Linked DNA regions of Homo sapiens: all the other regions are linked to region 2. The links are contacts of gene promoters, found by promoter capture Hi-C in human tissues and cell types (Jung and others, 2019). All regions are on one chromosome and are shown on one strand. Each heading gives the region's core, a stretch centred on a gene start or on the middle of the fragment in contact. The rest is flanking DNA. Distances are from core to core; before and after follow the strand shown. Region 1 holds the start of DEFB106B (defensin beta 106B). Region 2 holds the start of DEFB104A (defensin beta 104A). Region 3 holds the start of SPAG11B (sperm associated antigen 11B).

Region 1 (3,653 bases), core at 29-2,528, 350 kb before region 2:
AATTATAGATAAGTATCTGTAATTACATAATAATTATAGTAACTAATTATACTTTTATAATTATAGTATTATCTAACAGATAATTTTATAGAATATAACATCTTTTTTTTGACTTATTATATAATAAGTATGAGTGATCTGAAAAAGATACCTCTGGCCAGTTTCGAACGTGCATATCAAAACCAGTGGCCTGAATACGGCATAGGTCACTGTGGGTCCTAGATCCTCATGTTTTGACACAGAATCTACTCTCACAGGCTTGTCACAAAACAGACCAGAGCTATGAGCAGCTGATGTGAAAAGTTGAGCATCATACCTGGGATCGTATATCACTGGTATCTGGCACAAATTGGGAGTTACTGTGGGCTCTGAGAATCCCTTTCTTCAGCTCTCTGGAGGCTCACATGAGCCTGGTCTTAAGCCTTAATTTTGAAGAGGATACAATTGGAGCCACTGGAGATTCCCAGGAGCAGGAGAAAATGAAGAGAGTTTTGATATGGGAAGGGTGTCTTTAATGCCTCTTACTGTGGCAAGACAGTTGGGCTCCTACCCTGGCTTTGTTTTGGTTATCTATAAGACTCTGAGAAGCACTGAGCCCATCTGAGGCACAATTTCTGCATCTGTAATAAAATTTGTAAAATGGACCTTCAAACCCAAAAAGATTTTCTCTAACTTCCATTAAATTAGGGGTAAGACAGAGTTTTCCGTAAAGGCGCTGGCACTGGAAGACTAGATGCATTTTATGTGAAGCTCTCATCACAGTACTTGGCTTGATGATATGTGATCAAGAAATGGCAGTCCAAGTTACGCTGCTTTACCTGTTGCCATGACTGGCATGAGTGCATAGGTGTCTCTAAGCTCAGATCCTTACCTGTCCCTTCTCCTTACCTGTCTCAATCTCTACCATAACTACATTTTAAAAGGTTCATAGACTGCTATCCTTGTTTTTAATTTTTTCTCAATTTTTGTTTTTGTTAGTGAGCATGAGATGGGATGCCAAAAGGCATCTTTCCTGGCCTTCTTTTATTCTTTCAAACCTGTGACAGCCCCTCCTAGATAACAATGTAAAATGCAAAGGAATTACAGAAGAGGCGTTGGGGGATATCACCTCTTGTAGTAGATGGGTTGATCACGCCCAGGCATTCACTGAAGGGGACCCTGTCTGTGGGACACCACCTCCGATCACCTTCCCTGTAAAGATGCCCATTTTACCTGGGGTCAGAAAGAAGAGCACGGCAAAGAGAAAGAGGAAAGTCCTCATGACTGGGTGGGTCTTGAGAGATCAGCACCGTGTCCATGAGGAAAGAGCCGCAAACACCCACATTTATACATTTCTCCAGACCAAGTAACATCTTGATCAGTGAGGCTTAGCAGAAACGAGAGGATTTCCATGCTCTGCTGCACAGAGCCCACCCAACCTCAGTGGGTGTCACTCAGTCTACAGCTCATCATATTTCTGATTCTGGAAAGTTTTGAAGAAGGAAAGTGGGGATGAAGGGAGGACAGAGTAGGGCAGACACAGAAAAAATAAAAAAATCTGGAGTCCAGTAGTTTCGTTTCTAATCCTGGCTGTGTTCCTGAACAGCTTTGGTTTACTCATATGTAAAATGGGAGTAATTATACAATATCTCAATGCTTCAGTTAAGAGCTGAGGAACCGTAGTGAGGTGGAATCTGAATTCCAGATTCAGTCTTTTTGAGCTTTGTAAACTTGGCAAAGGGCTTGACCTAAGCATATATTTGTTAAAAAATGTGAATCTTGCTGTATGCTGCACGCTTTTCGTGCTTGGTCCTGCCATGCTGCTCACCTGTACCATGGCACTGTTGGCGCAGCAAGGGGCTGGTAACCATCATGCCTTGCCCTAGACACCTGGGCTCAAGCAATCTACCTGCCTTAGGCTCCCAAAAGCTACGATAATAGACATAAGCCACCCATCTGGGCCAATATTCATGTCCTTAATGAATTTAAAATATGCAGTAATTATGGCTTTGGTGCGTGAGGTGATATCTTACAGGAAAGGGGACTCAGAGCTAACTTGACAAAATGATTGCTACCCCTCCTTTTCTCCCTGTGATACTTGTAGAGAATAAAAATGAAAGCTAGAAAAGTGAGAGTCCACATTTATTGAGTTCTTACATGGTACCAGGCCTCCTTCCAAGCATTCCACATATTCAAAACACTTTTGCATTATAATCATACTAGATTCTTACAACACCTTTAGAGGCAGGCAGAATTTGCAAGTGGGTTCTTATTTTCTCCCAGAAAACAGAAGCTGGAAGAGATGAAAGGGGTCACTATCTTCTGGCCCCTGCATTAGTATGGTGGAAACTCACATGGCCCCTGCTCTTTCAACCTCTAGCCTGGTGTTCTTTCCACTACACCAGTTAGACTCCCCAAAATAAAAGGCTTTCTGGATGCCAAGGGTTATTATCCATGATATCATCCCTTTATCCTGGGAAATGGAGCATATAATTGTGTTTTATTGATTCACTTCACGGATCAAGAGCATCTCCCCATTACTTTTAAATAAAAATGAGCCTCTCATTTGGGTCTTCTCAAGGAAATCCCAATCTCTATTCCGAAGAGTCTTCCCTAAAAGATGGCCCTGATCAGGAAGACATTTTATTTTCTATTTGCTATGTTCTTCATTTTGGTTCAACTGCCATCAGGTAAGTAAAAATGGATGGGATTTTGATTGGGCAGATTATAAAGCCTGTTGATTCTTCCATGTTTGACCTTAATGGTCAAGCTCTCATGGCACCTGTCATGGGAATTTCTTAGACCTACAGTGACATTTACTAAGAGCAAACAGCATATAGTGTATTTTTTTTTTTTTGTAATTTGTTTTTGCTGGTTACCTGGAATGCTGGCCTTGAGAAACAGAATAAAGATTGCAACTCTGTGATCTACTGTCTCCTGTTATGCTATGTCACATGTGAAGTTGGGAGTGTTTTATACAGTGTTAATTCCTGTGTTGATTTTAATTTTCAAAATGTATTTTGTTTTGAATTTAGGGTGCCAGGCAGGACTTGATTTTTCCCAACCATTTCCATCAGGTAAGTTAAATCTCTTGTATATAATTATTTTTTCTCTTAGGAGCTCTGGCGCTGTTAGGTCTCTCTGATGTCTGGAGGCAAAGAGGGGACAGAGATAGTGGCAGAAATAGAATTGTCTGAAAAATCAGTTCACTAACTTATCTCCTTCTCTTTCTCTTGTTCCAAGTATAATATTTGGATATTTTTGATTTCACAGAAAAATATCTTTGTGACTGGACTGTAATTTGGCCATAGAGATTTGGACTCAGTGGCTTTTCCCATTAGCTGTTGGTGCTCACTAAACCAAGTTCTTAGATTTATTCTTGTACCAGCCAATTAGCACTGCTCTGTGAACACGCCTGCCCATCTCTTGCAAGCTCTGCTGCTAAGTCTGGTAATAATATATGTCACAAATGCATGAGGTTAGTTGAAGGAAGCTCAAATTAAAGAGTGAGGTTGCCTCAGTGAAAACTCAGCACCATTGCAGAAAAGCTATTCATAACGAATAGCCCCCAGATCTTTTCTTTTTCTTTGAAGTCATCTTATACAGAAAGAAAGGACATTGTAAACAAAACTAAAAGAAATATTGTAGACAAAGTTGAAATGGTTTTAGACAGA
Region 2 (3,567 bases), core at 109-2,608:
TACAGGGACACACCACCATCCCTGGCTAATTTTCTTTTTGTGTAGAGTCGGGGTCTCTCTATGCCGTCCATGATGGACTCAAACCCCTGAGCTCACATGATCCTCCTCCCTCGCTCAGCCTCCCCAAGTGCTGAGATTTACAGGTGTGAGCCACTGCGCCTGGCTCCCCTTTATCTTTCACAGGCATTTCCCAATAAATTTATTTCCTTTCTAATTCCTGTTGATAAATGCTTCATGGAGCACCCAAACTGGCATAGTTTATGATTTCTGATGTTCTATTCTATTTCGTTACTGTGAAAGGAGACCTGGTTTTCCATCACATTCTCCCCTAAGTGAGAACTCTGGGGAAGACACACTGACTGCTAGATTTTGCTTAGGATGTGCAAGCAACGTATGTCTGTCAGGCTTTGTCTAATCTGTGTTCTAGAATAAGGGGAGCTTATTCGAGAATGTCAACTTTCAAGATTGGACGTTTTTACTTTCTCTAAAGTACTTCATTTTAGAGAAATGAAGTATTTTTTTTTTCTTAAAATAAAATTATCTGGTGTTTTCCCTAAGGGCAAATGCCAGGAGCATATGCTCTATATGTTTTGCCTCGGGTGGGGTTGGGGTTAAATCCAGGGAGCATACACCCCGGGTTGAGGGCCAGGCGTATGCTCTCTGGAAGGTTATGTTTTATTTGAAGCCATTGTTAGAAATACAGCATTCTCATGAATTGTCTCCTTTTAACCTCTCTTCTCATTCTTGTCCTCCTTTTCACCTAAGCCCTAAGTGAGCCTGATGCTCTGTGGTTACAATCCCACCCTTGGACAATGCCCGCCATCAAGTATTCCTTGTTGTCACTTGTCATCCTCATCCTACACTCTTTCTATCACAGAAATGTCCTGGGACCTTTCACGCATTTATGACCTCCCCACGCTCCATGCCATTCTTCTCCTTGACATTGTATGTTTGTTTCAATGTTTACTTCAGAGAGGTCTTGGGGGCTATGGACTTCAATTCCATTAGCCACATCACAATTTTCAACAAGAATCTCCTGACTGAAATGTACTGAAATGGAAGAGAAAGTCCTCTCACCAGAATTGAGGAATGTCAAGGCTGGAAGGTATCTTAGAGATCATCTAATCCAGTTCTTGCTTCAGAAACGATTCAGGGAAGCAAGTGAAGTGACTTGGACTTTACCTATGGTAATACTCTCTCCCCACCCTCAACACTGCCCAGCTGGCATTTCTGTAGCCCCAACACCTCCCCCACACTGTGCCTTGGTGAGTGTTCACCAAGGAACGCTGCATTTTGATAAGCCTCAGTAATCAAGAGCAGCCTCTGCCCATAAATACACCTGCCCTGCTCCTGCCTGGGGTGATTCCCTCCGACTTGCGTCTGCTTCTCGCCAGCAGCCCCAGCATTATGCAGAGACTTGTGCTGCTATTAGCCATTTCTCTTCTACTCTATCAAGATCTTCCAGGTAAAAAGGGACTCTCAGCTGGAAATATACACAGTTGCTGGGGATGACAGGGGGAGAAGAAAAACATTTGATTTAGAAAATAAATCCTGAAGGATGGAGTAACCTTCTTCAATCTCAGCCTTTTTTCTCTTTGCTTTCATTGGGTCCATTAGTAAAATGCAGTATGTGGCAGTCCTTGTATGCACCTTACAGCCACGAGGCTTACTAGCTCAAGGAGGAAAAAAGAAACGTAGGGATCAGGAGTCCTAGATGTCCTTGGCACCCTGGCCACACACGGTAACAATTCCTCATGGAATCCTCAGCAATGAGGACTCACTAGCCATGCTTGTTCCATTGCAGGGCAACAGCAATTATTCATTGTTGATTTTGTAGAATAAGATGCCTTCCCCCATCCTCCTCCTTCTGAACAGCTTTACTCTGCACAGAAAAGGGCGCCTACTCATCCTCCTAAATTTTGCAACTTTTCATATCAAGTCAGATGATTAGGGTTAAAGGGGATGCAGTGATTTCAGTAGGCAAGAACGTAATTTACTGACAACACAAATAGCAGGTGCCTTTGAACTCTGCTCAGGAAATTTTAGACTGAGATGTCAGCAATCTTCTGACTCCTACGTTAATCTATGTCCCCAGAAGCATGTATTTCTTAATATATTTGCAATGGATATGAGAGAGCACCTAATCTAATTCCCTTCTTTTACAAGCTGAGCAGCATTCTCTATGGTACAGTGAGAGAAAATAAGATTTTTAGAGTTGCTTAACAAGTCTAGCAGTGCTGGGACGAAACCAATTGTTTTGACTCGTAGAAGCCATCGGATCTTCTCTTCCAAGCTGCTCAGTCAATTTTATGGGGCTTTGACAGACACCCAGCACCCATCTTTTTGCCCTTCCGGGCTGTGCCTCCACTGTGATTCAGATGGGTTAATGATTTTTTTTCAGAGGGTACCTGTTTAGGTTAACTCTTCCTTTTTCTTTCTTCCCGTGTCATTTCCCAAAGACACTTCTGTGAAATTCTGCTATGGGCATGTTCCAGGTCTGTTAAAATATGATAGCAATTTATCAAAGAACAGGTTTTCTTCAACCTTTGATCCCAAGACAAAGAACTTGGGATGGAAAGCCTGGGTCAGGGATCCCTCCAGATCCCGAAGAATGCACCGCAGAGCTGGCTGCCATTATCCACACTTGGCTGCAGAGGGCTGGGTCAGACTGTCCTCTGCAGTTGAATTCTGAGAAAGACCATTAGCAGGAAGAGGATTAGGGAGGGAAGTGGCAGAAGTGGGTGAGGGTGAATGACATGCGCTGCCTGCCTCTTCTCCTGCCACCCCTGCTTTGGGTAAGTTTGGCTGTCACACACTGTCAGCCCCTCAGATACCCACAGGGACTGGGGATGGGTGCTGTCAACCAAAAATAAAATTCTAAGCCCCCTCCCCAACCATCTAAATGGACTCCCTCCTCAGCCAGGGCTCTTAAAATTTAATCTGAAAGACTGCTTCAGGCCATGAAAGGAAGTGGGGGTTGGACATGCCTCATTACACTTTCCATCATGAACATCAACACAGACTTTAAGTGTGATAAGAAACATTTTACAGCCTGTTCTCTCTGAAGCCTGCTAGCTAAAAGCATCAACTGCATGATACAACTTTGGCCTCCACAATACAACCTCTTGTCGCAACCCAAACATTCCTGTCTATTGATCCCAGGTCTTTAGACAAACTCAATCAATTGTCAACCAGAAAATGTTTAAATTTACCTATAGCCTGGAAGGCCACCTGCCACACACTCCCACTGCACCCCCACAGGCCCCCCGCCACCCCCACTTTGAATAGTCCCACCTTTCTGGACCAAACCAATGTAAATCAGCCAGGTGTAGCGGCTCACACCTGTAATCTCAGCATTTTGGGAGGCTGAGGTCTGCAGATCACTTGAGGTCAGGAGTTCGAGACTGGCCTGGCCAACACGGTGAAACCTCGTCTCTACTAAAAATACAAAAATTAGCTGGGTGTGGTGGTGCATGTCTGTAATTCCAGCTGCTCAGGAGGCGGAGGCAGGAGAATCGCTTGAACCCAAGAGGTGGAGGTTGCAGTGAGCTGAGATCGTGCCATTGC
Region 3 (3,533 bases), core at 97-2,596, 370 kb before region 2:
TGTCCCTTGCCATGTCCTGCTACCTCCTTGCCTGAGTAGACTGACAATACAGTCTATTCTCTGCCCCCATTCTCAGGAAGCATTTCCCAGACCTCAATGGACACCTGAAACTTAGTAGGTAGGTATTCAGTAAATTCCTTGAACGGGAACGACCTCCAAAGCTAAGGGCATGGGGCTGCAACCTGGCAGGAGGCCATGTTTCCACCAGTGTCTCCTCTGGCACCTGTTCTTGGAGGAAGCCAGCAATTACAGGTGTGGCTTCAGATAAATTGCCTTTTGGCCCCTCAATACTCCCACGTTCCACAAGGCCCTCAATGATCCAGCCCCAGGGGAAGCTGTGAGACCCCGTGGTCTCCCTGACAGGCAGGGCAGCCCAATGCACCCGCACCATGTCTTCCCCAAACAATGACTGCTCACCCACCCCGACCAGCACAGACATCTTCCCGTCTATTTGTTCCCTCTACGTCTCCCCAGTGGATGCACTTGTTGCACGTGTTGGTCCCTGACTCACCTTGGTAAGGTGGGGTGCGCGGTGGTAAGAGGTCCCGTTTCACTGCGTGGCGTAGCAGCTGAAACCCGTTTGTGCCTTGCCCAGGGGCTCTTTCCCTGAGTTCTCCGAGAGCCTCAGTGGCTGAGTGGTTCACATGTCTGGCTTGAGACGATCCTGTGCAAGTGGAAACACACGTCTGAGGATGCTCTGAGGCCTCCGCCTGGCAGACCCGTCAGCATGAGGCACCTACACTCTACCAGGTGAGTGAGCATGGGTGATTGGGTGGGGGAGTTGGGAGGGGTGCTAGTGTTCCGTGTGTGTGCACGTTTGTGCACATGCGTTGTATGCACCTATGTGTAGAGAGAGAAGGTGAATGAAGTGTAAGAAATGTATGCCATGAATGGTGAGTCTGAGCACCTCCTCAAAGCCAGCACAGCCAGAGAATTTATTTCAAGTGTCACTAATGCAGTTGTTAAGATTCCCTAAAATGTAATGTTCTTCTCTGTAAGGGAAAGGGGAATGTTAAAAGGATAAGAAAATGGAGTCGGGGAGGGACACTCTTCCCTGGGAAGCAAGTGCCATCAGCCAATTCAGAGTGCCATTTATGAACCCAGTTCAGAGACTCGTACCCAAAGCTCCACCAGGAATACATGCCCCAAGGACTTCATCTCTCCCTGTCCAGCCTGGACTCCCATACCTCAGATGACCATTGCAGAGAGATTCTGGCACCCAGACCCGGGTCACCTTTCCATTTTACCTGGAAACAGCAGGGCCACAAGGAGAAGGCTGGTGACGGACGGGAGCAATCGTTGCCTCATGTCTGCCAAGAGCACTGCAAGCCAGAAAGCACCCAGGGTGGGTGGGCAGGCAGCGGGGCTCCTTTGATGGAGTGAGGCTGGGTGTGTGGGCCCGGAGCGTGGGAAGAGCTGTGCTCCAGGATGACTTCTCATTCTCAAAGGACAATGTGGACACGCTACTATCCCACTGCTGGTGGAACAAACACTTGAGACACATATTTCAGGAAGTAAATAATACGCCTGAATGCCTTGGGTGGGTTTGGTGAATAAGGAAGAACAGAGAGAAACAGAAAGATGAAAGGCATGGAGGGGCAGAACAAACATAACTATCATAAAGTTGCCAATGTCCTCAAACGCTTCTCAAAAGCCCCCTAATGTTCATGAGAACAGGGACATAAATAAACTGCCATGTCGATTCTATCCTGTTGGCTGAGCGTTTTTATTTTAGTGTTAAAAAATCATGCATAAGACACACAACATAACAGGTAGGACCTGGTTTTACAAACTATCCCTTCCTGAAGTTATACAGAGAGTTCCAAGGCTGCTCAAAATGTTCTTTTCTTTTTCTTCTCCTCTCTGAGTCTCTCTCCCTGTTTCTTGGTCCCCTCCACTTCTCCTTCCTCACTTTGGACCCCCCTCCTTTCTATTTTAACTTATTTGAGTTGTCTTGATTTTTCTCTCCCCTTTCCATTCTCTTTACCCCCAGACACCTCCTGTTGATGTCACTGGGTCCAATTCAATTCTTTTAAAAAAGAAAAAAAAAATCTGTGTTTGAGTCTGGGTTTTCTCCTCTAGTAATATCCAAGCAGAGGACTTGTCTTCCCTTCTCCTTCATCTTTTTAAGCATTTTAACCAAGTGTGTGTTTCTTACTTGGCTGCATTAGCTCAGGTATGCATGTAACCCAGACAGTCTGCTCTGGACTTAACTAAAGTGAAGAAGGCTTTGGTTGAAGAGTTTTGTATTCACATAGCATCCAATGTAACATCAGTGATGTCTGGAAAAGATAGTGCTTATCTCATATGTCTCATTTGCATGTATATTTTAATCCAGACAGAGAAAACAACTTAGGTCATTTGTGTAAATAAAAATACTTACTCTCTACCTGGAGAAAGCTGGAAGCAAATGGAGAAAGAGGCAGCAATGACAATAGAGACCTGGGCATCCGCTGAAGCACCAGCAAAGGGCGGAAGGTTTGCAGCTGCGGACAGTTGCACATAGCAGCTGCCCTGGCAGCACAATGCGGAGGCCACTATCTTTTGGGTCTCAGGACAGATTCTCCACTGCAAAGCATGAGGTGCTGGTCAGGGAGAGCAGGAGCATCATTCACATCCTTTCACTTTAAGGAATTAGGAAGTCTTCCAATTCCAAGAGCACAGGGCAACACTGCGGAGATAGGTGACAACTGGCCCATGATAAGTTTCTTTAATCACTTACTGCATCAAATTCTGATAATTGGATGTTGGAAGAACATAGACAGTCAAGAAAGGAGGTAGACAGCTGCTCTACCTCAACCCTAAATGAAGATTTATTCGCTCATCTACATACTCTGGGTATTTTTTGTACTCTAGTTCAATAGCAACTTCTTACAGTTGTATTTGTAATTATTTAAACTTGGAATGTGGATCTTTTATAACAGTGATGGAAATTTTGGAGTATATTGGTAACTTATTTCTATATATTTTTATCTTCTCTATAAAAGGAAAGAAAACAAAAACAAGCCTATTCCACCATTCAGATATTAATAGTAATGAATCATTAATCAAAATCATGACTTAAAATATAACAGCATTTGAGTAATTACCACCCAGGTAACGGAATCTTCTTTGAAGTCGTTAGAATTATTTGAAATTATTTAAATGAAGAAACTGAGCCAAAAATAGTTAGATCTCACTTCCTTTGTCTACGTCTTGAGATAAAGTAAGCCCCCTCTTCCATGCTTCTGAAAAGAACAATCTTAAAAAAGAGCAGCCGGGAAAGCCTAGTTCTGCTCTTTGACAGGCAAAAGCTGGTGAAGTCGTAATAAAGGCAATTAATGTTACATCTGTCCTAACACAACAATGCTCTCAGCTCCTGTCCTCTTCTGCCAGATTTCTGTGTCCTAAAAAAATCTTTGAATAATTCTCTTGCTAAAAGCCACATCCATCCTGAGGGGGAGGATGGCAGAACCCATTATAGAATATTCTAATAATTGTTTCAAGTTTTTTTTGGTCCATTCAATCAATAAATCATATTCTTTTTTTTTTAA

Evidence for each region. Contacts are between HindIII fragments. The study calls those that stand out against the background at their distance.
Region 1: the fragment with the promoter of DEFB106B here is called in contact with the fragment with the promoter of DEFB104A in region 2 in 20 of the 25 tissues and cell types used here (H1 embryonic stem cells, IMR-90 fibroblasts, adrenal gland and 17 more).
Region 3: the fragment with the promoter of SPAG11B here is called in contact with the fragment with the promoter of DEFB104A in region 2 in 15 of the 25 tissues and cell types used here (H1 embryonic stem cells, adrenal gland, aorta and 12 more).

What each region holds. Positions count from the first base shown.
Region 1 is chr8:7,485,122-7,488,774 of GRCh38, forward strand. It overlaps DEFB106B (defensin beta 106B), which reads right to left and starts at 1,279. Exons shown (of 2, transcript NM_001040704.2): 1 at 1,213-1,279. The coding sequence starts at 1,261. DEFB105B (defensin beta 105B) reads left to right here and starts at 2,558. Exons shown (of 3, transcript NM_001040703.3): 1 at 2,558-2,669; 2 at 3,015-3,056. The coding sequence starts at 2,600. The HindIII fragment of the contact is 12,606 bases long and covers 1-3,653 here.
Region 2 is chr8:7,835,078-7,838,644 of GRCh38, forward strand. DEFB104A (defensin beta 104A) reads left to right here and starts at 1,359. Exons shown (of 2, transcript NM_080389.3): 1 at 1,359-1,465. The coding sequence starts at 1,408. It also overlaps the pseudogene LOC124901865. The HindIII fragment of the contact is 6,880 bases long and covers 1-3,567 here.
Region 3 is chr8:7,462,196-7,465,728 of GRCh38, forward strand. SPAG11B (sperm associated antigen 11B) reads right to left here and starts at 1,347. Exons shown (of 3, transcript NM_058201.4): 1 at 1,248-1,347; 2 at 512-664. The coding sequence starts at 1,308. The HindIII fragment of the contact is 17,874 bases long and covers 1-3,533 here.